Linked DNA regions of Homo sapiens: regions 2 and 3 are each linked to region 1. The links are contacts of gene promoters, found by promoter capture Hi-C in blood cells and fetal thymus (Javierre and others, 2016). All regions are on one chromosome and are shown on one strand. Each heading gives the region's core, a stretch centred on a gene start or on the middle of the fragment in contact. The rest is flanking DNA. Distances are from core to core; before and after follow the strand shown.

Evidence for each region. Contacts are between HindIII fragments. The CHiCAGO score rates a contact against its expected background, and 5 or more counts as called.
Region 2: a fragment that was not itself captured here is called in contact with the fragment with the promoter of FRY-AS1 in region 1 in 1 of 17 cell types (megakaryocytes); the score reaches 6.5 in megakaryocytes.
Region 3: a fragment that was not itself captured here is called in contact with the fragment with the promoter of FRY-AS1 in region 1 in 1 of 17 cell types (endothelial precursors); the score reaches 5.5 in endothelial precursors.

Annotation. Positions count from the first base shown.
Region 1 is chr13:32,030,331-32,033,426 of GRCh38, reverse strand. It overlaps FRY-AS1 (FRY antisense RNA 1), which reads left to right and starts at 1,788. Exons shown (of 4, transcript NR_103839.1): 1 at 1,788-1,976. FRY (FRY microtubule binding protein) reads right to left here and starts at 1,653. Exons shown (of 61, transcript NM_023037.3): 1 at 1,562-1,653. The coding sequence starts at 1,631. The HindIII fragment of the contact is 3,062 bases long and covers 1-2,636 here.
Region 2 is chr13:32,341,707-32,344,706 of GRCh38, reverse strand. It overlaps BRCA2 (BRCA2 DNA repair associated), which reads right to left. Exons shown (of 27, transcript NM_000059.4): 12 at 54-149. Among named protein-coding and RNA genes, the nearest start is that of BRCA2, 28 kb to the right of the region's middle. The HindIII fragment of the contact is 3,996 bases long and covers 1-3,000 here.
Region 3 is chr13:32,394,953-32,397,452 of GRCh38, reverse strand. It overlaps BRCA2 (BRCA2 DNA repair associated), which reads right to left. Exons shown (of 27, transcript NM_000059.4): 26 at 409-555. Among named protein-coding and RNA genes, the nearest start is that of N4BP2L1, 32 kb to the left of the region's middle. The HindIII fragment of the contact is 1,458 bases long and covers 522-1,979 here.

The sequences.
Region 1 (3,096 bases), core at 539-3,038:
AATGATGCAATGACAAAAATTGATGGAAGAAAACAGTCTGGTCTTGGAATAATCAAATATGTTTAAAAACCACGTACTGATGTCAACTCAAAAGTGAGTTTTTTCAGTTATTGGAAAACTGCTCCATAAAGAACACTGTATGTCAAATTCTTTTCATTAATCAAAGAGCAGATAGACAAAGGAAGATTCATCCTTGAGTGTAAAGTATTATAAAAATAATGAGTCCAAGTTAAATGATTTATAGCTATGACAAGTAAAGAATGCTGTTTGGGCAACAGTATTACTCCCAAATGGCTTCCCACTTGTAGAAAAACAGCTTCAGACAAGCCCCATAGTGTATACAGTGGTGCAAAATGACCTGGAAAAAATGGTTTCTATGGATATCATTTAGAGATGCACATCCCTGAATACCTTAAGGCTGAAGGTACTTTAGCTCTTTTCCTCAAAGCAATTGCAGCACAGGTTCTCCTGCCCAGGTTTTGTTTATATAAGAACAATCTTGGCCACAGGTCATTTGTGTAGGAGACAATTAATCACTAGCTCTTTGAGCACAGGTAGGTTAATCAGTATGCACATAATACAATATTAAAATTTTCACGGGGAAAAAATTTTTTTATTTAAAACAATAAAGCATCAGTAATACCTGCTGATCTTTTATCCAAAGCAAGTACAAAGGCTGTTAGTGAAATAGAGAAGACTTTCTTTTTAAACAGTTCGGAAAATACAAGGCATCATTGATCACCTGAAGGCCTCATTTTAATTTGATTCCAGATCCACGGCAGCTTAGAGGTTGTCTTTTTGAAATAGCGTATTGCTAAAATCCTTATGTAGGTCAGAAATGGAACTTCAGGAGCCATCATATTCTGCTATCCTAATAAATAATTAGGGTCAGAACCTCACTTGTTTATGTTTCAAAAAAGCACAATATTTGGACTATAGCAAACATCAGGATTTTTAAAAATTCAAATATTAAATGGCATTCAGAACATCATCCACATGGAAGAGGGAGAGATGAAATAAATCTGCAGATGCCTCTATATACAAAAAGGATGTCCTAGGTTTTGGACTATTAAATACTTTTCTTTCTTCAGACAATACCCTAAAAAAACAATTACAAAGTACTCTGAAACCCTGCCACACCCCTTTGATTAAATCACACTTCACAAAATATTTAGAGAAAGCCTGAACAAATCAAATAAACATCAAGGCAGGAAATGCAGCCAGGAATGCCTGATCCTGAGCTCCCCCAGAGTCTGAAGGGCTGCCTCACTTGAAAATTTAATCAAACACAATCTACTGTAATTCCATTGCAGCCTTTGCACTTAAGGAAAGCTAGTTCAGTCTCTGACATTTTGATTTTCACAGCAGATGGGAGCAAAAAAAGAAAGAAAGAAAGAAAGAAAAAGAAAGAAAGAAAGAAAGAAAGAGAAAAGAAAAGAAAAGAAAAAAAGAAAAACTTCCGCGGCTCACAAACATATGTGTCCAGTTGAGATTTTCTGTCTCCAGCCTTATGCAACATCCAGCAAACAAACAAACAAAAAGGTTATTTTCTATTACTCACTATTACTCCAGGATTTCAGTAAATATTTGATACTGATCTCAAAGAAGCCCGAATCCTGCTGGCTGGCCATGTCTGCGGCATACAAAGAGGCTGGGAGGACGGGCAGCGGCCGGGAGCAGGTACCGGGCGTGATGCGCCTGTCACAGGTTGTGATGTCAGCGCGGGGTCAGGCGCCCAGAGGCAGCTCTGCGGATCCACCTCCGGCTCCGGCCGGGAGTGCTCATCTAAAGGACACGGCGGAGCAGAGAGAGATGCTCGGCCGCTCCTCCTCCTCCGGGTCCAGGACTTGCTTCTTATTTGCTGGACGCTGATCTCCCTGCAGCCCTCGGAGGCGGCGGCCGCGCTGCTTTCATTTCGGGGCTGTCATCACCAGAAACGCCGGCTGCCGGCCGCCCACCAGCTCGGCTCCAGCCAGGTACGCAACCGAGGAAGACCCCACCTGAACTGGGATCGGCTTTCTTCTGGGAGGGAGGGTTTCTAGGCCGGCCTCCCTGACGCGGTGCAGGCAGCCTCCGGCCCACACGGCCGCCGCGGGGCTAAGGGATGGGCCGGGAGCGCCGCCCCCTGCCCCTGCCCACTGTCTCAACCTGAGCCGCGGCTCAGTCTCCGCCTAGGCTGCGGGAGGAATTTCCCAGCTTCTGCGGATCCTCTCTCTTCAGCAAGGCTTCCCGTGAGCGGCCCGGGTGTGCTCTGGCTGCTGCTTCCCCTTGTGTCTGTCCCTGAAATAAACACAACTGCAGCACGCTGCGGTAAGCAAAGCTGCAGCCTTGCATCTGGTTGCAGCGACGTTTTGAAAAACCCCATCCGTCAGCCTCGTTGCAGTAAAGAGACTCAACAAGAGGACGCTTGTCTGGGCTTTTTCTTCCCTGCCTTCCACACGCATGGTGGTATCTGCATTTTTACTTTTCCCTCCCAGAAATGCAGTCTTTTCAAGGGGCATCGGAGCCCGAACGTGTGCACTCTAAGGGGACAGTACACACTGCTTAGTTGGCTTGTTTTTGTAATGTCACACACTCCACAATGGATCTTATTCTCAAACCTCTCATTTCTAAGACTCACTAAGCCCAGTGAAGCTTATTTTATTTGTATGAAAAGGATAAGAAGCAAAAGCATTAGATTCCTTGCTCTACAATGGCTCTTGATTTCATGAATTCTTGATATCAGGTGTCCTGATTTTGGTTAGCTTTGTTTCACATTATCATTTAGCTTGACCAGGGGATTAAATAAGAGTATTATATTTTAATAATGACAGGTTATGTTGGAAGAGGTGGGATTTGGCCAACTATCTCATAAACCACAGGATCCTTCCCAAGTCCCAGTACATTCATGATTAATGTTGTCTAAAAAACAGAAAAAAGTAATAAACCATGTTAATAAGTATTTAACATAGCAAATGTTGGGCTAACTCCCCAAATCAACACACAAACAGGACTTCCTAGATTAACAGTTCATTTTAAAAATGGAAGGGAAAGACTACAATGTACTTTTATTGTTAGGACAAAGAATTTTTAAAATTCAACACTAAATAAAACTTC
Region 2 (3,000 bases), core at 409-2,908, 310 kb before region 1:
TATATACCATACCTATAGAGGGAGAACAGATATAAATAAAAAGCTAATTTTACCATCTGGAGTGCTTTTTGAAGCCTTTAAGGATTTTTCTTGATTTTCTATTATCCTGTCAAATTCATTTAATAAGTTTCTTTTGATTGAGGGTTCTCCTAAAAAGAAATATTTCATATATGTTTTTAAGGCAAATAATATCAGTTTTATTTCTCAAAAGTCTATAGACCATTTTTTTAAAGCTAAAGTATTGACTCTTTAAATGTTAAACAAAAATACTTACAACAAATAGTGACCTAATGTTTGAAAGAGTAAAGTCAGTCTTCAATGTCAATTACATTTTTGTTCTGTTTTGACCACTTTAAAACACCACTATTTAACAGGGTCTAAACAGGATAAATCCTAAATAGGATAAACAGATGCTACCAGATACCACAGATAAGCTACTTTTTGAAAAACTGACACTAAATATAACTCTAGGTTTACTGGCAATAAGGCCTAACAAAATTTCTTCAAATAAACTTTTTCTCTCTTTTTTTTTTTTTTTTTCAGCACGGGGGCAGCCATTAACTGAAGGAGTAATTTATTATGTAGGTCCTTGAATTAGAGTTAAGAGGCTTTTTACAATTATCAAATTACATTAAAGTACTAGTAATAGAAACAATTCTTATTTAAAAATTCTACAGAGGCTAAGAGGGTAAGATTAAACCATAATTCAAGGTAGGCATTTCCATGTCATGCTGAGATAATATATAACAGGTACTTTGCTTTTTGATGCTTTATTACAGGGAATAAATTTGTATAATTTAATAAGTAAAAATGTCCATGCAAGGCTTTAGGAGGTGTTAGATTATTATAAAAGTGGTTTAATTGTTTAACAGTGACCTGTACTGTTCCAGTAACCAGAAGCTGACTAAGTTATACACTTATATGTTACAGAAATGAGGGAAATTAAGTAGTAACACCGTTGAAAGCATTTACAAGTCTGAGTTATTGTTTTTTTTTTCCCTAGGTGGAAAGTCAATATACTTCAGTATGCACAAGAACAGAATGGGTTGCTATAAATAAAGCCATTATTTTCCACAAAAGAATTACAAATATCTTTAAGCATATATACCTCAGAATTTCACACTAAAGGACAGCAAATAGTTTAAGTACTATAAACGTACTACTTTGTCCATAAAGTAAATCCTATATTGAATGTGACCTGGACAACACTTGATTAAGTAAATCTGTATCCACCAGAATGACTTAGGGGCAAAAGGCACTTTTTGAATGAGGAGACTAACTTCGGTGTCTCTCTGTAATACATGGGGTCTAGACAGGAAGAGTTCTAATAACTAAAATATTTTTATGAGTTTATAGGTTTTTTAAAAAGGAACTAGTTATTTAAGATTATCCACTGAAATGTTGGAGTTTTGGCATTTGCTTTAATTGCAACTAACAAACAGATTCAATTATTTAAGATTATTACCAGTCAGATACACTAATAGAAAAAAACACACACAAAAAAACAAAACCAAATACATACCTAATATAGGTATGTATAAGGTTAACCTAATGCAGTCATTTGCCACATAATGACATTTTGGTCAACAATAGACCACATATGCAATGGTCATCCTATAAGACTTTAATAGTGGTCCCATAAGATTTTTTTTTTTTTTCAGATGGAGTCTTGCTCTGTCGCCCAGGCAGGAGTGCAGTGGTGCGATCTTGGCTCACTGAAATCTCTGCCTCCAGGGTTCAAGTGATTCTCCTGCTTCAACTTCCCTAGTAGCTGGGATTACAGGCGTGTGCCACCACCATGCCCAGCTAATTTTTATATTTTTAGTAGAGACAAGGTTTTACCATGTTGGCCAGGCTGGTCTCAAACTCCTGACCTCAGGTGATCCGCCTGCCTCAGCCTCCCAAAGTGCTGGGATTACAGGCATGAGCCACTGAGCCCAGCCCCATAAGATTTTAATACCGTATTTTTACTGTACCTTTTCTATGTTCACATACACAAATGCTTGCCACTGTGTTAAAACTGCCTAGAGTATTCAGGACAGTAACATGCTGTATAGGTTTGCAGCCTAGGAGCAATAAGCTATACCATACAGCCTAGGTATATAGTAGGCTATACCACCTAGGTTTGTGTAAGTATACTCTATGATGTTCCCACAATGATGAAATCTAACAATCTATTTCTCAGAACATATATCCCTGTCAAATGACACATGACTGTAGTTGAACTAAGTTGTTAGATATATATACATTTAAAAGGGAAGTTAAAATAGTCCACATAACATTAAGATCAAGATACCATTTACTAACAATACTGTTTTTAGATCACTTCCTAAATGAAAAAAAGGGAGCAAGCCAACACTTACTGAATGCTCTCTGCCTACTATATGTCAAGTTCACTGCTAAGTGCTTTAAATACACTTTTTTTTTTTTTTTTTTGAGACAGTCTCGCTCTGTTGCCCAGGCTGGAGAGCAGTGGTGTGATGTCAGCTCACTGCACCCTCCACCTCCCAGGTTCAGGTGATTCTCCTGCCTCAGCTTCTGGAGTAGTTGGGATTATAGGTGCGCGCCACCACGCTTGGCTAATTTTTTGTATTTTTAGTAAAGATGGGGTTTCACCATGTTGGTCAGGCTGGTCTCAAACTCCTGACCTCAGGTGATCCACCCACCTCGGCCTCCCAAAGTGCTGGGATTACAGGCATGAGCGCCACGCCCAGCCCTCATGGGAGGTGTTATTTGCATTTTATAGATAAGGAAACTGAAGCTATGTAAGTAGTGTAACTAAGTAGTATATATTACCCAGTAAATGGTATAATCGGAAACCAACTTTTTTTTTTTTTTTGAGACGGAGTCTCGCTCTGTCGCCCAGGCTGGAGTGCAGTGGCGGGATCTCGGCTCACTGCAAGCTCCGCCTCCCAGGTTCACGCCATTCTCCTGCCTCAGCCTCCCAAGTAGCTGGGACTACAGGCGCCCGCCACTACGCCCGGCTAATTTTTTGTATTT
Region 3 (2,500 bases), core at 1-2,500, 360 kb before region 1:
AGATACCCTTAGCAAGTATTAGCTATTTAAGAATCAGCCATTAGCCAATGTTAAAGACTTTAGCTTGATTTGCATCTACTGTGATTTAACCACTTAAATAGCTTAGAAACAGCTTACAAACAGCTTAGAAACAACCCTAATTGTATGGAACAGTGAAATAAATGACAAAAAACACTTTTCAATCACATGTAAATGAAAGCACCTGTTTGGAAAGTGTGCACCCAGAGTTTCATATCTTGCTTCAATAAATAAAATTTCTAAATAACTATACTTACAGGAGCCACATAACAACCACATTTTCTAATTAAGTTTAATTACATTTTACCATGTTTACTAGGTATACAACAGAATATACGATGGCCTCCATATATACTTCTTATAATATTCCTTGAGTTTACATTAACTTACCAGAAGCTTGTTTCCTGTACCAGGAATGATTTGAGCAGTGTACGGCCCTGAAGTACAGTCTTTAGTTGGGGTGGACCACTTGGGATCATTTGCATGCAGTATATGCATAAGCTTGTTTTCTGCTTCATTGCAAAGTATGTCAATATTCTAAGAAAATAAGTGGAAAAGCTGCTTTATAAATTGCAAACCCACATATTTATGTTTCCAAAAGTATTTCCTTTAAAAGCAGAAATGAAAAGTTTGGACCAAAAAAGAATGAAAAACCCTAAATGTGATACCAATTGTCAAACATGCCGATGCAAAATTACAAAACCAGTATCAGTGATTTAGGGGAATCTAGCTGATAGGGAGAGGGGAACAGAGAAAAAGTATGTGTATCTGAAGGAAAGAGATCTTCTCTGTCATCTAGTTTAATCAGCAAGCTGTCATATGATCTGGATTGAAGCTGGAAGATTGGGGCTCAAGTCCTAGCTCTATTTACTACTTAATAGCTGGGAATCATCTCACATCTATAAAGGTACTTCTTTGGTTAGAGAAAAGAAAGAATTGCCTCACCTACCTCACGTCTGTTCCAAGAATTAATTGAAATGATTTATAGGTTAAACTACATGAAACTGTTGCTTGAGAAATCACAACTGGTCAAATATCAGCAATTTCATATGGTTTAACCTAATTCATGACAGTATTTTGTAAAACTTTAAAATGCTGTGTAAATGACAGTTGTCTCTTCAGCAGGATTAGTAAACTGCCTTTGAAGACGTCTCAGAGAAAATGCGGGCTCGGTGGCTCATGCCTGTAAACCCAGTACTTGGGGAGGCCAAGGTGGGCAGATCACTTGAGGCCAAGAGTTCGAGACCAGACTGCCCAACATGGTGAAACCATGTCTCTACTAAAAATACAAAAATTAGCTGGGCGTGGTGGCACGCACCTGTAGTCCCAGCTACTTGGGAGGCTAAGGCACGAGAATCGCTTGAGCCCAGGAGGCAGACACTGCAGTGATCCGAGATTGTGCTATTGTACTCCAGCCTGGGGGTGACAAAGCAAGACTCTGTCTCTAAAAAAAAAAAAAAAAAAAAAAAAAAAAGAAAGAAAGAAAAAAAGAAAATGTGGGGTGTAAACAGTAGATATGCTGTATGGGAACTAAATAATGAATACAACTCCCACCCCTAATTTAGAAACTAGATATAGCAGAGTGTTATTCATTATGCATAGAGTCTCTAGGTAAAATGTCAACACAGCTTTCTTTATACAGCTACTCTAATGCTTTTAAAATATATTTTTATATAAATTCTGAATAACACACATTTCAAATATTAAACTACAGAATTAAGAGGCTTATTTTTTGTGTATTCTTCACTAGTTACCAACTCATGAAATCTCAAATTTTACTGGGAAGCAGCATTGCATAGCAGTTCCTAGTCTGGGTTCTGCATTCGATGGCCTAAGTATGAATCCTAGTTTTACTAACTTGGCATTTGACCTAAGGCAAGCCATTTAACCTGTTTCTCACTGATAAAATAGAAAAACAGTTCCCTACCTCATAAGGTTGTGGGAGAATTAAATGAGAAGCTTAGAACAAGGTCTGACACATAGTAAACACTCAATAAACACCAGCTAATATTATATAATGTATATATAGATTTAAGCAGAAAATGCATACATGATCTAGGGAAAATAATATCAGTGTCTCTTATCTGGGATTAAATCAAGTCAAAGAAATATAATCTGTATAAAACACTAGATATGGAGTTTAAATGTAAACCTGTAGTCTCTATATTATTAACTAATCACACTGCTGACTGCTGCAAACCACAGATAACTCATATTATTCTTGTAACCAATTTCCAGTTTGCTTACAAAGTCTGCATTTCTGAACATCCTTCTCACAATTTCTCCTAACTCATTTCCCTTCAAGTCATTCTTCTCTTTCTAGTTGCTGTCATTTCCCCATTCCCCCATCTCCTGAGGTTCATGGGCAATTAATATATGATTAAACTTTACCTCACATACTACCTCAACTATCCAATTTGTATAAAAGCTATTTCCTTGATACTGGACTGTCAAAATAGAAAAATACCAAAATGTGTGGTGA